5 separate regions of the Homo sapiens genome follow, and regions 2, 3, 4 and 5 are each linked to region 1. The links are contacts of gene promoters, found by promoter capture Hi-C in blood cells and fetal thymus (Javierre and others, 2016). All regions are on one chromosome and are shown on one strand. Each heading gives the region's core, a stretch centred on a gene start or on the middle of the fragment in contact. The rest is flanking DNA. Distances are from core to core; before and after follow the strand shown. Region 1 holds the start of ITLN1 (intelectin 1). Region 2 overlaps LOC105371466 (a long non-coding RNA gene). Region 3 holds the start of LOC105371467 (a long non-coding RNA gene). Region 4 overlaps SLAMF6 (SLAM family member 6). Region 5 holds the start of CD84-AS1 (CD84 antisense RNA 1).

Evidence for each region. Contacts are between HindIII fragments. The CHiCAGO score rates a contact against its expected background, and 5 or more counts as called.
Region 2: a contact is called between a fragment that was not itself captured here and the fragment with the promoter of ITLN1 in region 1, in 2 of 17 cell types (non-activated CD4 T cells and activated CD4 T cells). The highest score is 9.7, in non-activated CD4 T cells.
Region 3: a fragment that was not itself captured here is called in contact with the fragment with the promoter of ITLN1 in region 1 in 3 of 17 cell types (erythroblasts, M2 macrophages and fetal thymus); the score reaches 6.0 in erythroblasts.
Region 4: a fragment that was not itself captured here is called in contact with the fragment with the promoter of ITLN1 in region 1 in 1 of 17 cell types (fetal thymus); the score reaches 5.1 in fetal thymus.
Region 5: the fragment with the promoter of CD84-AS1 here is called in contact with the fragment with the promoter of ITLN1 in region 1 in 16 of 17 cell types (total CD4 T cells, naive CD8 T cells, monocytes and 13 more); the score reaches 18.4 in total CD4 T cells.

What each region holds. Positions count from the first base shown.
Region 1 is chr1:160,882,121-160,887,052 of GRCh38, forward strand. ITLN1 (intelectin 1) reads right to left here and starts at 3,060. Exons shown (of 8, transcript NM_017625.3): 1 at 2,941-3,060; 2 at 2,700-2,763; 3 at 1,308-1,406; 4 at 1-84. The coding sequence starts at 2,757. The HindIII fragment of the contact is 4,692 bases long and covers 1-3,071 here.
Region 2 is chr1:160,394,222-160,399,153 of GRCh38, forward strand. The region is part of intron 3 of LOC105371466 (a long non-coding RNA gene); the gene reads right to left. Among named protein-coding and RNA genes, the nearest start is that of VANGL2, 3.9 kb to the right of the region's middle. The HindIII fragment of the contact is 683 bases long and covers 2,720-3,402 here.
Region 3 is chr1:160,435,586-160,440,517 of GRCh38, forward strand. LOC105371467 (a long non-coding RNA gene) reads right to left here and starts at 2,592. Exons shown (of 3, transcript XR_922202.3): 1 at 2,497-2,592; 2 at 1,373-1,705. The HindIII fragment of the contact is 2,708 bases long and covers 1,430-4,137 here.
Region 4 is chr1:160,485,231-160,490,162 of GRCh38, forward strand. SLAMF6 (SLAM family member 6) reads right to left here. Exons shown (of 8, transcript NM_001184714.2): 6 at 3,858-3,940; 7 at 1,874-1,945; 8 at 1-1,524. The coding sequence ends at 1,477. Among named protein-coding and RNA genes, the nearest start is that of SLAMF6, 36 kb to the right of the region's middle. RefSeq lists enhancers at 4,110-4,239, 4,350-4,409. The HindIII fragment of the contact is 1,775 bases long and covers 1,400-3,174 here.
Region 5 is chr1:160,534,148-160,539,079 of GRCh38, forward strand. CD84-AS1 (CD84 antisense RNA 1) reads left to right here and starts at 2,949. Exons shown (of 2, transcript NR_188634.1): 1 at 2,949-3,040. The HindIII fragment of the contact is 1,945 bases long and covers 2,066-4,010 here.

The DNA of each region.
Region 1 (4,932 bases), core at 1,810-4,309:
GGGTCCAGCCGCCACCCCCAGAGGTCATGTCACAGAAGGTCTGGTAGATAACACCATTCTCAGTGCGGAGAAAATACAGGCCATCTGTAGAGAGAACCAGCCCAGAGCCTCCCTGTCTGAGAGCTGAGGGTTCATTTCAGCCCCATGACAAGAAAGGCCCTAGGAACCAGAGACATGGCCTAAAGGCTCCTGTCCTGACTCACATCACTAAGTGCTCCCAGGGGTACTGGGGCCTCCCTGAGTTCAGAAGATCATGCTCCTGTAACTGAGGCAGAACATAGAATTGTATAAAATCCCAGTGACATTTTTCATAAAGTTAAACATGGAATTATTGTATGACCCAGCAATTCCACTGCAGGTCTATCCCCAAAAGAATTGAAAACAGGGCCTCAAGCTGATGCTTTTACACCAGTGTTCATTGCAGCATTAGTCACAAGAGCCAAATAGAAGAAACAATTCAAATATTCACCAACAGGTGAATGAATAAACAAAACATGGTGTGTGTGCATATATGTATCTGCAGTGGATAAAAGGGAATGAAATATCCATGCTACAGCATGGACAAACCCTCAAAACACTGTGCTAAGTGAAATAAGCCAGACACCAAAGGACAAATACCATATGACTCCAATTACATGAGGTAACTACACTAGGCAAATTCATGGAGATAGAAAGTAAAATGCAGCTACCAGAGACTGAGGGAAGAGAGTTATTGCTTAATAACTCCATGTTATTTTTTGTTTTGTTTTGTTTTTGTTTTTGTTTTTGAGATGGAGTCTCACTCTGTTGCCCAGGCTGGAGTGAAGTGGCACTATCTTGGCCCACTGCAACCTCTGCCTCCTGAGTTCAAGCGATCCTCCCACCTCAGCCTCCCAAGTAGCTGGAATTACAAACATGTACTCCACACCCAATTGATTTTTGTATTTTAGTAGAGACAGGGCCCCACCATGTTAGCCAAGCTGGTTTCAAACTCCTGGCCTCAACTGATCCACCCCTCTCAGCCTCCTAAAGTGCTGGGATTACAGGCCTGAGCCACCGCACCCGGCCCCTCCATGTTATTAAGTACAGAGTTTCTGTTTGGGGCACTGAAAAAGTTCTGCATATGGATAGCTGTGATGGTTGCACAACCTTGAAGGTAATTAATGCCACTGAATTGCACACTTAATGTTGCTTAAAATGGCAAATCTTATGTAAATTATAATATACATATACTTTACCATAATTTTTTAACTAAAAGACAAAAAGACTCCCAGAAGACACAATCCTGATACCCTGACTGAGCTCTGTTTGAATGTTTCATCACTCACCAAATGCACTAGGACATTCGTCTTTGATTTCCTTGCAGCTTCTGGGCAGAGATGGAGACGAAGAACAGGTCCATTCCTTGAAGTAAGTATTAGCCTCATCTAGGGAATACACAGGGTTTATTCTCATTCCCGGTTTGACACAAAACCTACCCTCTCCTATCACTAGTCCCACGCTCATTCCACCACTGTAGCAGAACCTCGCTGCCCGGGTGGTAAGGCCTGAGACAGCCAGTGTCATATCCACTCAGCCCATCAGTGTCACATCCACTCAGCCCATCGGCATCATATCCACTCAGCCCATCCGACCTGACAGCCAGCACAGGCTTAAAGTCTGCCTCCCGCCACAAGACCTGTCCTTGTGCTGGGTCCTGCCCTAAGCACTGAGTAATCAAAGACATTAAAGTTCCCCAGCAAGAGCTTGCCTCTAGAGGGAATTGCTAACAAGTCAACAGAAAATTGTATTGACAAGAATAAATGGTAGAAGAAAGGCAAACTCAAGAGAACAAAAGAAAGACTCTGAGGTAACAGTGGAGAATGGAAACGCCAGACAGTAAGCGGGGCAGTTGCCTGGGAGAAGAAGGCAAGACGGGTTGTCTCATGTCTTAGTCACAGAAGACCTTCCAGTCCAGGTGACATCTTAGCTTATTCTGAGAGAATAAACATGATTTATCAGTAGGAAGCCAATCCAAGGCAGGGAAAACAGCATATCCAAAGGCCTAGAGAAAAAAAAAAAAATACAGCGTAGTCCAGCTGTAGAACTACAAGCTGCTTAATATGGCTGAAACATGGGGTGTGAAGTAGGGAGTGGTGAGACTAATCTCTACTCCAAAAAGTCTGCAAACTATTCGAACAGTCTAGGGGAAAGCTGTGAGGTCAGAGGTGACTGACCTCAGTTTCCTCATACCTAAAACACAGTTAATAAACAGTGCTTTTGCAAAGATGAAGTAAGAAGATATTTCGAAACAGCCTTTTCTTTAAAAAAAAAATTTTTAGACGTGAAGAAAAATATAAATTTTAAAATGTCATTGTTATTCTTGTTGTAGAGAGGAAAACTGTGGAGAGAACATTCTCCAGGCACAAAGCAGACCATGTAGTTCCCATGGAAATCCCACAGCCAAGGCCACAGGAGTGGGCAGTGGCTGGAAGGTGACACAGTTCTTGCCACAGCCCCCTCAGGGCCACACAAAAGCACAGAGCCTGGACCCAGGACATGCCTCAAGCAATACCTTCACTGCCACAGGCCAGATTCCGCCAGAGACCAGAAATCGGCACTCAGTCTACATGCAAGCCAGCCGCTGTGCATCTCAAGGACATGCTCTGTGTCCTGGGAGAGACCAGGATCCCGGAAGTCATCCAGCTGAAGGAACTGCTGTCCCTAGCAGCGTGACTCACCTGTACTCCATCCTCTGGTGGTCGCTATGAGAAACAGCAGGAAGCTGAGTTGGTTCATTGTAATCTAAAGAAAGCAAGATGAAGGTCACCATCTTGGCCATCATTTTTCTCTACATCCCTGCCCCACCCCTGTCCAGTCTTACAAAGACTCCAAAACCCCTTGCCTTTTGTTTAAACTTCACACATCTCTGAGACCAAAAGCAGACCTAAGCTGAAAACAGGATTCCCCCAACTCACAGACCTTGTCTGAGTCTCAGCTGCACTTTCCTTGGGTACAGAGAGCTCCTTCACTCCCTCCCTCCACTGCGCCCTGGAGCTCAACAGAGTGCAGCTTTCTCCAAAAACGCTCCTGATGTGGAATGAGGTGCAGAAAGCTTTATGGAGGAAGCCCAGTGGGGCCAACCAAGGTTTCCAGCCTCACCCTCCCCTGGCACAATGCCCAGTGCAGGGGAGGCTTCTGGTTATCTCGGGGAGGTTATTTATACAGTGGAATTAACAGGTTCTAAAGAAAAAACCAATCCTAAGAATCACCTGCTAGCGTTGTTCCTGGATCTGGGGGTTTCATGGACCTGTGTCAAGTAGGAAGTAGACGAAGAGATTAACAAGAGTTGGTGTTGGTTTTGGGTTTTTGTGCCTTTCTTTCTTGCAAAATAAAAACTTTCTCTAAATTAAGCATCTGTTGGCTTGGCACATTGGCTCAAATCCCAATACTTTGGGAGGCCAAGGCAGAAGGATCACTTGAACTCAGGAGTTTGAGACCAGCCTGGGCAACATAGGGCAACCTCTTCTCTACTAAAAATAAAAGTAAAAAAATTAGCATGGCATGGTGGTACTTGCCTATAGTTTCAGGTGGGGCTGAGGCAAGGCAAAAGGGTAACTTAAGTCCCAGAGATAGAGGATTCAGTGAAATATGACCGTGCCACTGTACTTCAGCTTAGGTATCTCAAAATAAATAAATAAATGAAATTAATCATTGGCCATAATTATCAATTCATAGAAATAGAAAAAGGAAATTTTAACAAAATGGGAAAGTGATCATTTCTGAATAAATTGGTAAAAAGGAATGGAGGGGAAAGAGATACAAAACACACAAAAAAATACGAATAGAAAAGTTTTAAAAAATATATAAATCTTTAGTTTGAATAATTTAGTTTCACACAAAGACTCACTACTTTGTCTTTAATTTTGTCATTTTGCCACAAACGAGGGAAAATTTACTACAGGATTCATTTGAAACTGAATCAATACGAAACCTCTCTGCTGCTTCGAACCTCCTGTCTTATTCCTGCTCCTATGTCATGAAGTTCTCAAATGCTACCCTGCAGCTGTAATAGAATTACTCAGTTCTTCCCCAGTGATATCATACATTTAATACATAATGTCATTATAGCATTAATAATACTGCAACCTTTTCTTACAAAGATTGTGAATATCTTTTTTGTTAAGCTAATATTTCCTATTTGTTGGTTCAAAGTACTGATTTGCAAAAAATACTCACATATTGATAGAAGAAAATAAAATAGCACCCAAGAAGAAAAACTGCAAAAAAAAGTTATACTTTTGTAAATTTAAAATCTATTAGAAGCTATTTGCTCTGTGTATCTGGAAAATAATTAATTAAATAAAATTAAATGTATTAGAAACTAAATTAACTCATCAGTATAGGTAACAAAATGAACATACCCAGCTTTCATATTTACAAACAACAACCTCTTAGAAATAGAGGTCTCAGCCAGGCGCTGCGGCTTACACCTGTAATCCCAGCACTTTGAGGGGACGAGGGTGGCCAATCACTTGAGGTCAGGAGTTCAAGACCAGCCTGATCAACACGGTGAAACCGTGTCTCTACTAAAAATATAAAATTAGCTGGGCACGGTGTCAGGCGCCTGTAATCCAAGCTACTCGGGAGGCTGAGGCAGGAGAATTGCTTGAACCCGGGAGGCAGAGGTTGCAGTGAGCTGAGATCGCACCATTGCACTCCAGCCTGGGCAACAAGAGTGAAATTCCATCTCAAAAAAAAAAAAAAAAAATAGAGGTCTCTAAGTTTACAGTTCACAATAGTAAATACATGTATATAAAGTTAACACCAAGGGCCCAAGATCTAGAGAAAAAAATTAAACATCCCCTCAGTTGTTCATTACTGTGTGTAACTAACCACCTGAAAACTTTATGGCTTAATAAAACAGTAACATATTTGCAAAAATAAAAAAAGAAAATATACACTTATACTACT
Region 2 (4,932 bases), core at 1,811-4,310, 490 kb before region 1:
GCTAGGGAATAATAGATTGTTCAGATAGCCTGAGAAAGAGTGGCAGGAGAGATGTGGAAAGTGCTTATGTTATTAACAGCTTCCTATGGATGTCCCTACCGTGATAGTCCACAGATACCTGAGATACCTGTCAAATCCCACATATGATCTACCCTTTAAACCTGCTCTCTCAATAGCCCCTAATTTTATGTATGGCATGACCAGCTTCTTTAATATACATACCAGAAGCCTCTGAGTCATTTTAAATGCCTCTTTGTTCCTCAACCCTATTCATCCCACCTGCAGGTCATCTCTTCCAAATTTCAGCTTTTTTTTTTTTTTTTTTTTGAGATGGAGTTTCGCTCTTGTTGCCCAGGCTGGAGTGCAATGGCATGATCTTGGCTCACTGCAACCTCTGCCTCCCAGGTTCAAGCAATTCTCCTGCCTCAGCCTCCCAAGTAGCTAGGATTATAGGCATGTACCACCATGCCCAGCTAATTTCGTATTTTTAGTAAAGACGGAGTTTCACCATGTTGGCCAGGTGGTCTCGAACACCTGACCTCGTGATCACCCGCCTCAGCCTCCCAAAGTATTGGGATTACAGGCCTGAGCCACGGTGCCCGGCAATGAGCTTTCTTTTCTATCCTTATCTATCCCCACAGCCTTGGAGCCAGGCTCAACTCCCCTCCACCACCCTGCCCCCAAACTATTTAATTAGCCTTCTTACTGGTTTTGCTACTTCTAGATTTTTCTCTCTTTAAACCAATGCCACACATACCCCCCAGCATGCCCTGAGAATGGATGTGAATTCTGTGTGTGTACATGTGTACATTGTTCTGGTGAGCGCTTGTAGCTTTCATCAAAGTCTCAAAAGTCCACAAAAGGCTAGGAGTCACTACCATGATCTTTATTTCAGATGAAACCGTGCTCAGTAAATGTGGTGCAGTTGACAGACTGCTGAACAGTAAGTCAGGAGACCCGGGTTTTAGTTCTGGGGCTGCCACTAATTAGCCGTATGACTTTGGGCAATGAGGCACTTACTTTGTACCTGTTTCCTCATCTGTAAAATTCAGAAAGTCTCTTCCAACCTCAAAATGCTATTATTGAGAAATTACCATACAATTATTATTAAGAAATTGCCATACAATGTCATAAATGCTAAAACAAAGGTATGCAGAGCTTTGAGAGCACAAAGGAGGTTCTCCGGGTGTGGGGTCATCTAGCTTTGCTTGGGAAAATTGGTAAAGAGTTGCAGAGGAGGCCACAGTTCAGTCTTGAAGGATCAACAAAACTTTCCAGGCAGAAAGAAGGAGGAAGGCATTTTAGGCAAAGGAAACTTTGTGAGAAGGCAGAGAAGTAATAGAGCCTCAAATTGGCAGAACAATGAGTAGATGCGTATAGTTTGGATGTACGTGTGTTGAAAGTTTGGGCTTTAAATGCACAGGGAGCACTAGGAGATAAGCCTGGAGAAGGCGAATGAGTTGGGGCCTGAAGTTTCTTATGTATGGTGCCAAAAAGTTTTGACTTTATCTTGTAGACAGTGGGAAGCCATGGATTGTTTTAGGTAAGAGAGTGACAGGCTGATTTCCCTTTCATAAAAATCACATTGGCAACATGGGAGGAAGACGGATTGGAAGGGAATGAGACATGTTTGGAAATGATAAAGGTCTGAATAAGCCAAGGGGATAGAGGTGGAAGGAAGATAATGTTGTTCCTTTTAAACCTATTACATTTAAGATACCCAAGGAATATCCAAGTTAAAATGTATGGTAGGAAGTTGAAAATTTGAGTCTTATGCTCACAAGATAGACCTGGATTTAGCAGCACTCATAAGTGAGTACTGACTGAAGCCACAGGAGTGAATGACATTGCTTTGGAAAAGCATGTGGAGTGGGGAGTAAGGGGGCCAAAGGCTGAATTCTGGGAAATAATAGTATTTGAAGTCAGGAGTAGAAAACACATTGGAAGGATGGCTGGGGTGCAAGGAGCTGAGGAGTGAAGGGAGGAAGAGAGATAGTAAAGAATCTATCCATTTTTTTTTTTTTTTTTTTTTTTTGAGATGGAGTTTCACTCTTGTTGCCCAGGCTGGCGTGCAATGGCACGAACTCGGCTCACCGCAACCTCCTCCTCCTGGGTTCAAGCGATTCTCCTGCCTCAGCCTCCCGAGTAGCTGGGATTACAAGCACCTGCCACCATGACCGGCTAATTTTGTATTTTCAGTAGAGACGGGGTTTCTCCATGTTGGTCAGGCTGGTCTCTAATTCTCGACCTCAGGTGATCCACCCGCCTCAGCCTCCCAAAGTGCTGGGATTACAGGTGTGAGCCACCAGGCCTGGCCTAAGAATCTACTCTTTTAAGAAGGTTGGATGAGAAAGAAATAAAAGCGAAGGCTAAAGCAAGAGGAGGCTGCTGAGTGGAGGAAGGTATTTCATTTTATTATGTCTGCTGGGCAAAGATCAGTGAAGAGGCCGAAGTTGGTTACAGGAGAGATTGTGAATAATGGATGGAGGTGGGAAAGGACAGGATATAACGCACACCTGCAGGGCCTAGTCCCAGCCAAGGGAGCTGGAGAGTGTCTATTCTTCCCAAGAAGGAGGAAGGAAATCAGAAAGTTTCATTCAGTGGTTCTCACATTAAAATCACTGAGGTATCTTAAAAAAAATGCCAATAGCTGGGTCACACCTCAGAAGTTTCTGGTTTAATTAGTCTGGGATGGTCCTGGGCATTGATGTGTTTTCAAAGCTTCCCAGGTGATTAAAATCTGCAGTCAAAGTTCACAACCACTGGTTTAATTGCAGGTAACATTTTAGATTAATGATAATGGGATTGGATTTGAGGAAACTCACACTTAATAAAGGTTGGATGAATAGGGAGTGGTCAAGGTTTCATAGATGAGGAAGGGAGAAAGAGAAGGAAGCTAGAAGGGAAGGCAGCTAATGCTAACTTATTGAATTTTATGTGCCAGAGATATAGAAATGAATGAGGCATGGTCCTTCTTCTTAGAGATCAGGATCTCACATGACAGACACTTCACCACAAGCCTATGACATAATACAGTTCTTGACCAGTTAAGTTTTTTTGTGTGTGAGCTACTTTTATTCTTTTTTTTTTTTTTTTTTAACTAAAAGTGAAGGGGGAAACCCCTCACACCCAGAACCCAGGTATTTCCCAATATAGACTGGGTCTGGAAATCCTTTTGTGAGCATTGAGAGTAGCCTTTCTGGGAAGGTGGGTGCTGGGGAAAGATCTGTAACTATTCCGGGAGATCAACTTGTACCCAGGCTCATCAGCAGGGCTGGAAGTAGATGGTGATTGTGGCCCTGCATGTGGGTACATTACTGCAGTCACCTGTACCTGGGAGGTGGCTAAAATTGCTAATTGCTTACATGGAAACACTTTGATGGCCATTCTGCTATAGTGTGAAGCTTCTATGAGTAAGGTACCAAGGATTCCCTTTCTCTGAGCAGCATTGTAAAAAGGCCCTACTTTTCATCAGAGCAGAAAACCTAACTTTTGCTACTGTGGTCTGGGCCTGACCTCCAGGGACAGCTTCATCCACACAGGAAGTAGGTAGGTGCTTCTCTATAGTCTGGACCTTCCCTCAGAGAGAGTCTACTGTCACTTCTTGAGTTCCTTGAATCTTCCCCAGGAGGGTCCAACTCCCAGGGCTCCTGGGAAGCCTCTGATCTGACCCCACCAGCCCCACCTCCACCTAGTGAGCTGGTGAGGTGTTGAAAGGGCTTTAATGGAGGGCCCTGGCTTTTAGCTAGGGGCCTCCTTCCCCGAGGAAGAGTACTGAAAGAAGTGTCCTAGAGAAGTGTTCTCTCCTAAGAGAAGTATCCTAGGCACAGAACAGAGAGGGGAAACTCGACTGGGAATTGACTGTGGCACTATGAGTATATGGAGGGTGTTCCTTCTGTTACCTCATTAGACCCTTTTTATATAAGCAGAAATTGAGGCTTGAAGAAATTAAGAAATTCGACTATGTCCTCAAGGACAGGAGCTGTACAAAATCCAATCTGTTCCATTCTATTGTCCCTCAGGCTCTTGGCCTCCCTCTGTTATTGTAGGTTGGCCCCTTTAGGAAAATCTCAGTTGAATGTCATTTCAGTGCTCTCCTTCCTTCTAAAGAATTAAGCTAGGTCCCTTAGACCATAGGGCACATGGGCCTTCTAGCTGGGTCTCTGTTTGCTTACTCAGTGACTTGGGGACGTGTGAAATCCAGATGGGATTCTATCCTGAGGTGAAGGTAGAAGGTAATACAGAGAATTGCTGAATGGGACAGACCACACCAATAAAATTTTTTGTTGGACTCTGTAATCCAGTGTTTTCATTGCAGAGATGTAATTGAAAGCCCCCAACCTCACCGTCAGAGAAAGGAGGGACTAAGCTTATTCTAGCCTGATGCCTGATACCTGTTAATTGGGAAGCCTTGTCTGTTAACATCCTGACTTAGGTTTCAAGCTTTCAGTGGGGCCAGACTATGGAATTATCTGTAATTCTGGCATCAGAAGCCCTTTTTCCAGTTCTTTGGGCCATTTTGGGGTCTGTGAAACAGGCTAGCAGCATGTGAAGATAATTCACACTAAATCTGCCTGAGAGTCAAGACAGTGCCACGGCAGCCCCGACTCTGTGTCAAATTACACACTAGCTGCCTAGCACTGGGGTGTGCTTTGGGGCAGGGCTGGGGACACCCATGTCCTCCCTACTTCCCTTAACCCTTCCCCAGCTCTCCTGCCACTCCCTCATACACCTGGTCGTGGTCACTGCCAGGAGCCCCAGTGCGGCCCAGTGCCTGCACATGATAGGCACAAGGTGAATGAGTGCCTGGACGCATGCAGGGACTTGGGTACCTGAAATGATGATTCTGCATATTTCATGTAGTCTTGATGCTGAGTCACCTGCTTACCCATACTACTGGAGGAGGGGATGAGGAAAGACAGAGTTTGGGCA
Region 3 (4,932 bases), core at 1,534-4,033, 450 kb before region 1:
CACTCATTCTGTCATTTAACCAATATTTGTTGAGCACCTTCTATGTGCCAGGAGCTATGCTAGGTATTGGTGGCATGGCACTGAATAACATGGACATAGTCTTTGTTCTCAGATAGTAATCACTTAATTTCAAAGGTGATGAATGTAGTGATGAAGTATAGGGGACTATGGGATCTTACAGTAGGAAACTGACCAAGGTTGTCAGGAAAGGTTTCCTTGAAATAAAGGATGGGGCACAACATCTTTTTGACTGGGAAGAGCTTCCTCATTCTCTTCAATAACCAAACTCTATCCAAGAAATTGCTGTCTAAAAATTGAGTGTCAAAGTAATTGGACCTTGGAAGTTGTCAAAAGATTTCTTGAGAAGGCTAGCAAGGATGTATAGCAAGGGGAATGCTTGTACACTGTTGGTGGGAATGTCAATTAGTACAGCCACTATGGAGAACAGTATGGAGGTTCCTCAAATAACTAAAAACAGAACTACTATATGATCCAACAATCCCACTGCTGGGTGTACGCCCAAAGAAAGGAAATCAGTATTTCGAAGAGATGTCTGCACTCCCATGTTTATGGCAGTACTATTTACCATAACCAAGATATGGAAGCAACCTAAATGTCCATCAATGGAGGAATGCATAAAGGAAATGTGGTACATATATACAATGGAATTCTGTTATTTGCAACGATATGGATGGAACTGGAGGACATTATATTAAGTAAAATAAGCCAGGCACAAAAAGACAAACATCACATGTACTCATTCACATATGGGAGCTAAAAAAAATTGAAGTTATGGAGAGAGAGACTAGAATGATGTTTACCAGAAGCTGGGGAGAATAGTAGGTACAGGGGGATAAACAGGGAGTGGTTAATGGATATAACAGTACAGTTAAATAGAATGAATAAGTTGTAGTATTTGGTAGCACAATAAGGTGACTGTAGTTAACAACAATTTATTGTATATTTAAAAATAACTAAAATAGGGGAATTGGAATGTTCTTAACACAAATAAATGATAAATAAATGCTTGAGATGATGGATACCCCAATTACCCTGATTTGATCATTACATACTATATGTCTGTATCAAAACATCATATGTGCTCTGTAAATATATACAACTATTACGTAGCCATATAATTAAAAATAAAAATGAATTTCTGAACAACTAAGGGACTGCTATTTTACTAAGACTCTGATGGCAACTGAAATAAAAGTTACAAATGAATCTTTTGTTTTAAGAATAAAATCAAAGACAGGGAGAAGAATTGGAACATCTAATGTACGCTGTGTATATGTACACATAATTGCTCGACACTAAAGAGAAGAGGACCTTTGTGGAGCCCCTCATGTTTATACCACAGAACCCATACCTGGTACTTGCTATTTCTCAGCTGCCATGGTTCTTTCTGAGGGCAGCGTCTTGCCAAAGCTTACCAACCGTTTCTGAAATAGTATTTACTATTTGAGGAGAGCTCTGAGTTAAGCATTTTCAGTTCAGATGTTGTTTTCCCCTTGAATTTTCAGCAAACCATGTGGAACCTCTGCTTCCTCAGATTCCTGGTATGGTGCCATATTGTGGTCAAAGAGATGTCCAAGAAGTCCTGTTTGCCTCAGATAGTACCTCACAGAGTGTCAGTATCTTAGGAGGTCATTACTGGTCCAGACATTCTGTCTTCATTAAGTAATCAAAGGGAAATAACATTCTGGAAATGGAATAAAACCAGCCATACATATAAAAGAGCAATTATAAATAAGAATGTTAATTTATCAATTTATAACAACTGATAGATCTAGTTTGGGAACTGGAGTTGGTCATTTGTACAGGTATATTCCTGATGGGACAGTTCAAATTGATAAATTAGCATTTGTCTATTAAATACAGAACCAGACAGGAGGAATTGGAAATTCTGAAGGACATCATTAAATGTTGCAGTACTTCAGTCCCCTTTTCTCTTTTCTACATACTACCCATGGGTATCCTCATCTCATCCCAAGGCTTTAAATACCGTCTGTGTACCAGATAGCACAGCATAGTAGTAATGAACATGGGCTCTGGGGTCAACCTGCCTGGGTTTTTCTTCTGGTTTTGCTCCCAGTAGCTATGTGGCCTTGAGGAAATTTTCTGTTTCTTTATCTTTAAAATGAAGACAATAACACAGTGCCAACCTCACAGGGATGTTGGGAGTGTAACTCAGAAAATATTCATAAACTACTTAGATATGCCTGGCATGTAGTAAGTACCCAATAAATGTTAGTTATATACCAAGTACTCCCAAATCTCTATTTCTTGCCCTGACTTCTCCCCAGAATTCTAGACTTATAAATCTAAGTGCTTATTTGACATCTTCACAAAGACATCTAAGAGATATTTCACACTTACTATAGAAATTAGTAGCCTAGGGAGATAAAGATAATGTTTGTCTGTGGGGCAGAGAGCAATGATTTTACCAGGCTCTTGAGTACGGATCTGTGTCAGTAAGCAATCTGCGCTTACTTTCAGTTTCAAGTGACTGGTGGTGATCCAGGTTCACGTAAACAAATTCTGTTTGTGGTCTACCCAAACATCTATATCCTCACTACCAACACCATTTATTTTAGCTGTGGGGACCCCTTAACTAGTGGCCACTGCCTTATTGCTTGTTGGCTTGTGCCATGGGGCTTACTGTTTCATCATAATAATAGCCCTCCCTCCTTCTGCCCAGAGGAGAAAGAACAAATACCATTTGGACAGCTTGCTTCAATCCAAACTAATACCCCTCAGCCCCATTAACAGGTAGAACAGTGGGTATCCTCATTCTCCACCTCTCACTCACTACTTGGATGAGAACAGTCACTACTGGATCCCCAGGAGTCTCTCAGATCTTCCAAACAGGCCTGCAAAAGGGCCATTGTACTTTCCTCTTCCCGAAAGCCCTATCTCTGTCAGCATCTCGTCCTCATTGCCAGAACTTCCAACAACTATGAAAAGCCTGAGATTTTATGCCACTTCTAAACTAATAAGTTTGTCTGTTAGTTTCATGGGTACTGACAAAAAACATGAGACTCCTGGGTCAGAGACAAAGGACTTTATTACACTTGGCCCAGCAGGTAGCATGAACTTCATATTTGCATTAGTTCTCCTTGCCTCTAAGTTCCACTGGGTGATACGGAGCAGCCAATCTGGATGCTCTGCATACAGTAAGTTTATGTCATGGTTGAGGAACCCTGGGATTAGGAAACCCTAGTATTTTAAAGAGCGTTTACTTGAGACACAAATATCTTAATACTGTGACCACTTTATGTAGTTCTTTCCCAGACTTCCTTTTTACTGCTTTTCCAATATTGTTTTTCATTTAAGTGACTGACAAGGTGGTCAACCTGTTAACATGCTGCCCATGATTCAATGTAGATATGTACCTCAGGCAATCTCTCCTTCCAAACAAAGTGTACAACTAGATATGCTGCTTCAAGTTCTGCCTGCTGGAGAGATTTTCTTTCATTACTGACTTTGAAGCCTCTACTGAGTGAGGTTCACTGTAGTGGAGAGGCCATTCTCATTCATCTGGGGCTGACATAGCATGCAAATCCAGGCCCATGCTCTTTCTTCCTCCATTAACTGTTCATAGGGAATTCCTCATGAGGCCGTCGGTGTAGAGCAAGGGAGAGGTGGAAGAGTAGCTGGAATTACAAAGTCCCCTGCTTATGCAGCATACTTGTGTATTCTGGACCTGTTCAGACCCATTTTTGTATATTCCACTTCTGTTTTATAATGAATTCCTGTTAGGTAATTCAGTTTTATATTTGGTGGTTCAGAAAACACCCAGTTCATGATGGACAGTTTGCGTTGCATGATAATTTGGTGTCCCGAGGCAGACATTCAATTTCTACCAGCTCTCAGAAGCAAGCTAGGAATTGCTTTTCAAATGGCGAAAGGTTGTCAGCACAAGTGGACATCAGCTTACTGCAAATCTCCTGGGGGGATATCAAAGACTTCCAAGGAGGAAAAAAATCAATCTAAATTCGATTACAAAGAAATGCAAGAGACTCCAGGCCTCAATTTCTTTGCTTTGTATAAAGGTAAAAATGATAGATTTATTACAATTTGAGTTATAAATTTAAATTTACAATTTAGTTACAATTTTAAAAGGCTAAAAGAAGCTTTTTTGTACCAAGCTGTAGAAAGTTTTAGTATAATTTGGTAAAACGATAAGAGAACTTAATTTTAATTAAGTTTTACTTACACTCCTAATAAAAAGAAACCATGTAATAAATTAAATTATTTTGTGAATTTGGGGTTAAATTATGTCTACCTTTTTTTGCTGTTTTTTCCACAGCATGAAATAAAAATGCAAGCATGGCATATTAATTAATTCAATAATTTGTATTTCTGTTTTAACAAAAAACTAAATTAAATGGAACTATCTAAATTTCAGTTGAATTAAGATAGTTAATTAAGATAGTTCTAAGATAGTTAATTAGAACTAATTAACAATTGTCCTATAAGTGAAATAAGTAATTATCGCCTATCCATTATTTAAAAATATGTAAATCTAAACATAGATATATGCAACTACATTGAGTTATAATTTAAATAAGTGGTATATCTGTATAACCGGTTCTTTTATAGAAATCTTAGGCAATATTGCAGATTATATAGACCTACAGAGCTAATCCATTTATACTGTACGTGTACAGTTTTAAGGTGTTATTGGTTTTCTGACCTTTTCTTTCCTTCCTTTGTTCCTTCCTTCCTTCTCTTGCTTTTTCTTTTTCTTTTTTTTTTTTTTTTTTTTTTTTGACAAGCTCTCACTGTGTTGCCCAGACTGGAGTGCAGTGGCAGGATCATGATTCGCTGCAGCCTCAACTCCTGGGCTCAAGCAGGAGTCCAGCTAATTTTCTATTTTTCTTTTCTTGCAGAGACAAGGTCTTGCTATATTGCCCAGGCTGGTCT
Region 4 (4,932 bases), core at 1,037-3,536, 400 kb before region 1:
TTAGTAAAGACGGGGTTTCACCAAGTTGGCCAGGCTGGTCTTGAACTCCTGACCTCAAGTGATCTCCCCCCTTGGCCTCCCAAAGTACAGGGATTACAGGTGTGAGCCACCATGCCCAGCCTAGAAGATTCATTTTAGAAAGAGTGGTCTGGGAAGGTTTCTCTTAGGAGGTGACATATTTAAAATTAAACCTAAAGAATAGGAGGACCCCAGCAGGCAGAGGAAGGGCCTGCAGGAAGATGTAAATAATTAACATAAAGAACTTTTCCTTTAATAGAGGAGCTGAAAGAAGATCAGGGAGGCTACATAGAGAGTGTCAGAAGGGTAATGCTAGCTGAGGCTGGAGGTGGGCCAGACCATCCAGGGCCATGGAAACTGGATTTCTTTCTGAGTGCATTGGGAAACCTGCAGGGTTTTAAGCAGGAAACTGAAGGATCCAATTTATATTAAAAACATTACTCTGGCCATCTTGTGGAGAGTGGGTTGGAGAGGGACAAGAACAAAAGTGAGGACAACTGTTCTGATCTTAAGGTAGGATTCAGGTTAGAGGTGGTGATGGTTGGATACAGGATGGTGGTCAAGGAGTTGGAGGAGAAGTGGAAGGTCCAAGAAATATTTCTGAGGTAGAGTCCAAAGGGCCTGGTGACAAAGACACTGGAGTCAGGGATGACTTAGATTCTTGGCTCAAACAATGGAGCTGATGTAATACCATCCTCTTCCTTTTTCAGTCTGGGAGACTAAGGCTCCAAAAGGTTAGGCAGTATGTCCCAGGAGATGTGTCTAATAAACATTGTACAAGTTGAGCATCCCAAATCCAAAAATCCAATATCCAAAATGCTCCAAAATCTGAGATTTTGAGCACTGCATCGACATCAATGAAACTCAAGGGAAATGCTTATTGGAGCATTTTGAATTTTGGATTTTTGGATTTGGATACTCAACCGCTAAATATAATGCAAATATTCCAAAATCTGAAAAAAAATTGAAATCTGAAACATTTCTAATCCCAAGCATTTCAGACAAGGGATGCTCAACTTGTATCAGGATGGGCCCATCCAACTCCAGAGACTACACATGTAACCAACACACTGCATTATTTCTCAATAAGTCAATCCTGCTGCTTTCTAAAAGGAGAGAAGTGGTTGTCTTCTGGATCATAAACTCTCTGTCAACCATAATTCCATTTGCTTAGTTATCAAAGAGAGAGTCAATGTGCTGGTGTGTTATCTTTAGCATGTTTTGGCCTGAAGTGGATTGGAAAATATTATTTGAACCACATGCTGGAAATGATGTTATCCTTAGGTGTTTGACTCAGGTAGGCAGGTTTAAGTCCGAAGGACTGGAGGTGATCATCCTATCCTAGATATTCAAATTCTGTTGCCAGGAACAACAGGAACCAAGCTTCCTGTTCTTTGTTCTGTCTCATGGGATCAGAAGACGTGTCATTCCCGAATTCCTCTGAGGCCTTTCAGCAACTTACACGACATTGTCAAGGGCAGTTGCCCTGGAAAAAGTGGGTTTACTCTGTGGGAAAAAGAGGAAGATGAGGTAGGTTAATTGGAACTGGAACCTCAGCCCACCCCTCATAACTACAGAGAGAGGACTGGAGACTACAGAGAGGCAGATAATAGAGATATTGATAGCATAGGGCAGGATTAAATTTAAAAACATGTAATTGAAAACTCAGTTATGCATGGTGATCCTAATACAAAATAACTTCTTGATTATGTTTTGGTGATGTCCTGAGACTTTCCGCATGCTGCTGCTGTTTGTGCATCTGTAAAATGACCCTTTTATTTTTACTTTATTTGAAAAATCATAGGTCTGTGGAGAGAGGTAAGAATATAAAAACATGGAGCAATCGTGGGCTTACCTCTTTGGAATGATTAATTGTGGAGTAAATTGTGATAGTATCATTTTCTCTAGGTGTCCAGATTTCTGTTTCCTGTAAAAAGAATCATACCAATTTGGCTTACACAGAGACAAAGAGATTAATGCATAGATATATTCTTAGGAAAGACTGTGTGACAAAAAAGAGAATATGTCAAAGTTCTTCCAGAGGAAGGCTGGGGAATGTTCAGTGGAAGACCAAGCACGACTAGCTATCAAACTTGTGAGGATTTAGTGGCATTTCCTGAGCCCCAAACAGAACAGCAACACTGCAGCAAACCAATGGGCTCAAGAGCCAGAGAAAGGCAGCCTTGCTGTATGAAGGGAAGGAAGTATTCTTGTCCTTTGTCCAGCTCTACTTTCCTTCCTCCATTTTTAAGAAAAAACTTATATACCAGATAGTTTATTATATGTTTTGTCTCAAATTTTTACTAGCTATGACTGAAACTACCCATTTTGCCTGCTCCATCTTTTGCTATAATTCTAACTGCCTTGTCATCATGTCATTGGGGTCTTCTCAAGCATGGGGAATTGGTAGAATAGGAACACTTGGCCTTAAGAATGGCTCTGCCTGGAATGCACATTACAGAAATAATAGCAGAAGTCCCTACGGCCCTCAAAGAACCTACTCAAAGATTTTGACACTTTAAATTAATGAAGAAGTATTTAGAGAATTATCAAGATCTCTACTGGGCACAGTGGCTCATGCCTGTAAACCCAACACTTTGGGAGGACGAGGCAGGCGGATCACTTGAGCGCAGAAGTTTGAGACCAGCCTGGGCAACATGGTGAAACCCCGTCTCTACAAAAAGTAGAAAAATTATCCTGATGTGATGGTGCTCGCCTGTAGTCGCAGCTACTTGGGAGGCCAAGGTAAAAGGATCACCTGAGCATGAGGAGGTTGAGGCTGCAGTGAGCTGTGATTGTGCTACTGCACTCAGCCCTTGGTGACAGAGTGACACTCTGTCTCAAAAAAAAAAAAAAACCAAAAAACAAAAAACAAACCAACAAAAAACAAAAAAACCTCAAACTCTCCAAAGCACATTTTTTTTTTCTTTTTGCTAAAGAGAAAGCTAACCAATTTGTGGGAAATTAGTTTTTTGATTTGTCAGAGTGTGAGTTGACTTGTTTTCAGGAGGAATTTGCAAAGGCAAAAGAAATGTCTGAGCAAGTGAGAGTACCCCTTCTTGCTTCCTGTCATCAAGGATCATACTTTGCAAATATAGGTGAAGGGAATCCAAGATTTCTAGCTAGATCATTGCTTACATCATTTTGAAAATGCTAAGCTTTCCTGGCTTATTTTTCAGAAAACTGGCCTCTCAAAATGTATGGTATTATTTAGAGATGTGCCACCTGCAGGTCCTTTATTTAGGGGTGGTGGGGAGTTGCTGATACATGACAGATGAGTTGCTGATGCTTGACCAGCCATCCTGTTATGCTGCTAGATGAGAGGGGAGGGGTGAACCATTGCTCATGGTTTAGTGGCCTCTACTGTGCCCCCTTCCCCTCTTGAGAGACTACTTCTGAACTCCCCTAAGACCCCTACATGCAGAGTGAGAAGTCAGCCACCTGCTATGGAACTACGTCCATAGGAAACTTTCAAACTTAGTGGAACTCTGACCCATTCAGCAAGTATTTACTGATCATTATGCTAGGATATAGGGCAAGAGAGAGGAAGACATAATTTGTACTTTCAGTCAGCTTGTAATTAAGCTGAAGGGACAAGACTTACTGATGCATCAAGCGGTTGGAGAACTGTGTAAGGCAGGGTATGAATAAACATTCCCTTAAGGGTGAGAAAGGCAGACACCAGAGTGGTCTAGCGCATAACTTTGCAGCCCCTGTCGCTGTGGCTGTCTTCTCCTCCCCTCAGTGGTCATTTGTTCAGTCAGATGGTTATGGTGACAAGTTTGTGAACAATGGCTGTAAAACTGACAACAATGGCATATAAAGCTGAAAAGACTCACCCTGTTTGAATGAGTGACTGAAGCATACACAGTGTTGTTCGTTGGAGACACTGAAACATACTCTAGGTTCCTTGCGGACTCTGCTGTTAACATAGGAAGGCACAGTCAATGGCACAAGGACTCTGGGACTTCTCTCCCAGGACTTCTCCCTCCCCAGAGCACACTGTGTCCCCAGATAGGCAGGTGTTTGAAGCATCTCCTTTCCTGAGGGATCATTCGTTCTTGACAGTCTTTGGAGCTCTGGGTGAACCTTCTCAGTCATGTGGTCTATTTCTGACCACATCTCTTGGGGTAGAAGGTGGTGTTGAGGTCCCCTAAAGCTTCAGAGTCTCCCTCAGGCTTCACATGTGGGTCAGGAAGCTCCTGGGACCAAATAGCCCTGCCTATGGAAGGGCTAAAGACACCTCATTGGCAAACATAATGGAGCCAGTTATTTCACATTTGGGATATTATTAAGCTTTTCAGAGGTCTCTACAGCGGATTTGATTATTTTGGAGATGAGGAACTGGAGGCTCAGAAAACTTAACTGACTTGTGCAAAGCCATACAGACAGTGATGAAACAGCAACTCAAATGCACGTCTTCTGACTTCAAACCTTATGCCTTTTCCTCTGCAAGTGATGTCATGCATCACTCATGCATGAAATGAGACCCAAAGCCAATCTGAGTCCAGAGCCTGTGTTTGTGTTTCTATATCATGTTTTCTCTTTCCACTGTGTCTATCCATTGCCCAGACCCTGGCTGAACAGTAATGATGCAGTCAGACAGTTTGGTTTTGTGCCTTGGATGCTCTAATCCTGCCTGTGCCCTGGACTTGCTGGGTGACAAGGGATGATCCCTTTCACTGGGACTTAGTTTCTCCATCAGCAGGGTGGTGAATGAACCTGATATCACCAAGAGAAACTGTGTGAGTGACTGGTTCACATGCCTATGCCTGTGAACCATGTAGGACCCATGATTACAGATCATCTCCCCTCACAGCATGTGGTCTGAGTAATGACATTCTGACTCCTTCCTCTGTCATTATCCAGCCCTCTGCCATCCCCCTCTCTCTTCCATTTGGCTCTTCCCATCTG
Region 5 (4,932 bases), core at 1,699-4,198, 350 kb before region 1:
ATTTTGGCTACTTGGTGTCCGTTTAGATTCAATATGAATTTTAGTATGAGTTTTCCTATTTGTGCAAAAAAATCTTTGGGATGTGATAGGGATTGCATTGAATCTGTAGATTGTATTGCCATCTTAATAATATTAAATCCATGAACACAGGATGTCTTTCCGTTTATGTATGTCTTCTATAATTTCTTTCAGCAATGCCTTAGAGCTTTCAGTGTACAAGTATTCCCCTACTTGGTTAAGTTTATTCCTAAGTATTTTATTCTTTTTGAAGTTATTGTAAATTAAATTGTTTTTCTTATTTTTTGGATTGTTTATTGTGAGTTTATAGAAATGGAACTGATTTTTACAGTTGATTTTGTATCCTGTAACTTTGCTGAATTTTTAATTAGCCCTAAGAGTTTTTGTGTGTGTGCTTGTGTGGATTTTATACACATGAGATTATATTATCTTTAGGATTTTATATATATGAGATTATATTATCCATGAACAGAAATCATTTTGCTTCTTCCTTTCTAATTAAGATGTCTTTTATTTCTTGTTCTTGTCTAATTTTTCTAGCTAGATCTTCTAATGCTACACTGAACACAACTGGTAAAAGTGAGCATCTTGTCTTGTTCCTAATTTTAGGAGAAAAACTTACAGTCTTTCACCATTGTATGTGATGTTAACTGTGGATTTTTAATATATGGGCTTTATTGTGTAAAAAGTTCCCTTGTATTTCTAGCTTGTTGGATAGTTTTTATCATGAAAGAATATTGAACTTTGTCAAATGCCTTTTCTGTGTCAATTAAAATGACCAGTTTTTTTCTTTCATTCTGTTAATGCAATATATTACATTGAATGATTTTTGTATGTTGAACTATCCTTGCATTCCAGGAATACATTTCACTGTCATGTTGTATAATCCTTTTAATATGCTGCTGAATTTTGTTTGCTACTTATTTTGTAAGAATTTTTATATAAATATTTATAAGGAATATTGGTTTGTAGTTTTGTTTACTTTTAGTGTCTTTGTTTGGCTTTCGTATCAGGGTAGTGCTGGTGTCACAGAGTGAATTAGGAAGTGGTCTCTTCTTGTTAAGGACTGAGTGTTTATGCCTCTACAAAATGTATATATTGAAGCTCTAACCCCCAATGTGATGATATTTGGAGATGGGGACTTTGAGAGATAATTAGGTTTGGATGAGGTCATGTGAGTGGGACCCTCATGATGAGATAAGCATACTGATAAGAAAGGAGAGACTAAAGTTCTTGCTCTCTCTCTACCACATGAGGGCGTATTGAGAAGTTGGCCACCTACAAGCCAGGGAGAGTTTCACCAGCAATTGAATCAGCTGGCACCTTGATCTTGGACATCGAAGCCTTCAGAACTGTGAGAAATAAATTTCAATTGTTTAAGCTACCAAGTCTGTGGTATTTTGTCATGGAAGACAGAGTGAATTAATATATTTATCTTCAATGTTTAGAAGAGTTTAAGAAGGATTAGTGTAAAATCTTTTAAAACTCTTTGGTGACCAGTGAAGCCTTCTGATCCAGGACTTCTCCTTGTTGGGAAGTTGTTTTAAAATTATTTACTTAATATTCTTAGTAGTTATAGGTCTAATCAGATTTTCTATTTCTTCATGATTCAGTCTTTGTAAAAATTGTGTCTACTTCATCTATGTTATCCAATTTGTTTGTAGTAGTCTCTTCTATTCATTTCTGAAAAATTGGTTGTAGTGTCCTCATTTTCATTTCCAATTTTAGTAATTTGAGCACTCTGTCTTTTTTTCCATAACCACTCTAACTAAATTTGCCAATTTCGTTGATCCTTTTAAGTAATCAACTTTTTGGTTCATTAATTTTCTCTATTTTATCTCTGGTCTAATCTTTATTATTTTCTTTATTTTGATAGCTTTGGGTTCATAGTAGTGGCACTTTCCCACTTGAGATCTGAATTAAGTGAAATAGAGACCAGTTCTTCATGGACTCCTAAGACAGATTAGAATATTGCAAATAAGATCTGTTATGTTCCCTCCCATTCAAGAGAGGGAACTGAGAAGTGAACTCCTGCCTCCTCTAAACAAGCTTTCTGTTGGGATGAGGAGGGGATGGGGCAAGGGCAAGAAAAATGCCATGGAACTTTTCCTACCATTTCAAAAGTGGCTTTTTCTTCATTGGGCATTTGATTGGTTGTTATAAAACTCTGACTGTTTTCCAGAGTCCCTATAAGGTTAATTCAACCATTTGGGTTTTTTTTTGTTTGTTTGGCTGTTTTTTTATTACTCTAAGTTGGGGGAAAGAGAGAGTTTGGAATTTCCTAGTCCACCACTTTGCTGACATCACTCTCTCTATCTCTATACTTTTACACTGATTTTTAAAAAGATGATAGAAATGTGTTCACATATTTCTTAAGTAACTAAAAATTAGTGACATTATCCAAGATCTTGGTGGATAAATAATATTCTCTCTGAAGAACCAATGCCCCTTAGAAAAATGACTGATTCTAGATGTGAGATAGCCTCTTATATGTATTTCTTGACTCACTTTACTAACAAGGATCTTCAATACAATACAGTTGAAGAGTAGCAGTGATCTTGTATTCACTGAATACAAGAATGGTTACTTGTATTCATTTCTTTATTAAGAATGCCTCTAATGTTTCCAATAAATGTTTGCTACATATGCTGTATCAAGTTGTAAAAGTTTAACCCGAGCCAGTCATTTGCTTATTTGCTCTCAGCTCTATTCCCACCCTTCTGTGTTCCTTGTTTTTCAGAAGGTTAGAAGTCTGCAAACTACATTTATCATTTCCATTGTCAGATGGCTTCTGATTAGATTTTGTCACTGGGTGGTATTGGTTAAAGTTGGATGGAAGGAATAAATTATATATTTTTCCATAATCTTGGTTTCTGGTAATGTTTTCAGTAGTGGCAGTGATAGCAGAAGATGAGTACCGCTTCAGGGTTCCTGGTGTAGCAGTGCAGTTCCAGCAAGCATGTCAGAAGTCTTGCTAGTGTGGTACTGGTGGGATCAGGCTTTGATGGTGGCATCTGCAGTGGTGAGTTATTTTTGTCTCCCAGAGTCTCACAGTTTTGATGAGACTGTGAACTCTTAGAATCTTGAAAGCTGGCAGCACTGATTCCCAAGACAAATTTCCATAGGGACAAAGTTCCATAGCAACTTCCTGGAATTATTAATTGCTTGGTAACCTCAGCTTCCCTGTTTTACTCCTCCATCACTTTTGGAATCAATTCCCTATATTCAGCTTGTTGAGTTTTCAGTATTTAACATGGTCTCAGTTTTTTAAAATTGGATATTGACTAAAACACATTCTATTTTTAGCTTTCTTGAAAACTTTTTAAATCAGTCATGGGTATTCAGTTTTATCAAATATATATTGTAGACTATGTCAGGATGATTATTTTTTTCATCTCCTTTAATCTGTTTGAACAGCAAATTACAATAGATGGTTTCTTAAAGATAAATCATCCTGGCACTCTAAGGATAAAATCCTACTTGGTCGCATTTTTTTTTCTTTTAATGCATTGCTTTAAAATTGACTGAAGTTTAAGATTTTTAACATTTATATTTATAAGTGAGATTGGACTATATCAGGATGTGGCAGACTTTTTCTGTAAAGGTCCCAGTAGTGAATATTGGACTTTGTGGACCATACAATCTCCTTTGCAACTACTCAACTCTGCTGGTGTAGTATGGAAGCAGCCATAATAAACACATAAAAGAATGCGTGTTGGCTGTGTTTCAATAAAACTTTATTTATGGATGCTGAAATTTGAATTTCACATAATTTTAACATGTCCCAAAATATTATTATTCTTTGAATTCTTTTCAACCATTTTAAAAATGTAAACTATTCTTAGTTCGTGGGTCAAATAAAAACAGATGGCAGACTGGATGTGGCCACACGCCATAGTTTGCTAACTCCTGGCCTATGTATCTCTTTGTGGGGGATCATCCTTATCTGGCTTTGGAATCAGTGTTATATTATAGTATTTAATGAATTTGGAAGCTTCCCACTGTTTTCTATGCCTTGGGACAGTTAAGATGACTGGGAATTATCCTTTCATTGTAGGTGATAGGACTAGCCCTTAAGACCATCTAGGCTGGTACACTTTTGGCAATTAGACCACTGAATATCTTTCCATTTTTTTTCAGGTTAAAGAATTTCTTCTAATTATAAACTAACTTTCTCTCTCTCTTTCTTTCTTTCCTTTCCTTTTCTTTTTTTTTTCTTTCTTTTCTTTCTTTTGAGAAAGAGTCTTGCTCTGTTGCCCAGGCTGGAGTGCAGTGGCACCATCTCAGCTCACTGCAACCTCTGCCTCCCGGGTTCAAGCAATTCTCGTGCCTCAGCCTTCCAAGTAGCTGGGACTACAGGTGTGTGCCACCACACCCGGCTTTTTTTTTTTTTTGTTTTTGTACTTTTAGTAGAGACGGGGTTTCACCATGTTGACCAGGCTGGTCTTGAACTCCTGGCCTCAAGTAATCCACCCACCTCAGCCTCCCAATACAGGCGTGAGCCACTGTGCCAGGGCTTAATTATAAATTTTCAACTTATAAGTTATTACATATACAAAGCCTTATACCACAGCAATCCATTGGTCCTTTCTGCCACCAGATGACATTAGCATGGCCAATATAACCATTATTTGTGTTTTGGAAAGATCACTCTGGTTGTGGTGTAGAGAATGGATTGGACTGGGAGCAGGCACGACTGCAAGAGGTCAAGTGCTATTGTCTGGGTAAGAGATGATGGCAACCTGGACTACTGTAGTTAGTGGTGAAAGAGAGGTAGATAGATTGTAGTGACATTCAGGAGTTGTGTTGGGGTTTTCAAGACCACCCCCAGATTCAGTCATTCAGTAGGAGGACTCACAAGACTCAGCATATAGCCATAGTCATGGCCGATTTATTACAGTGAATAAACACAAA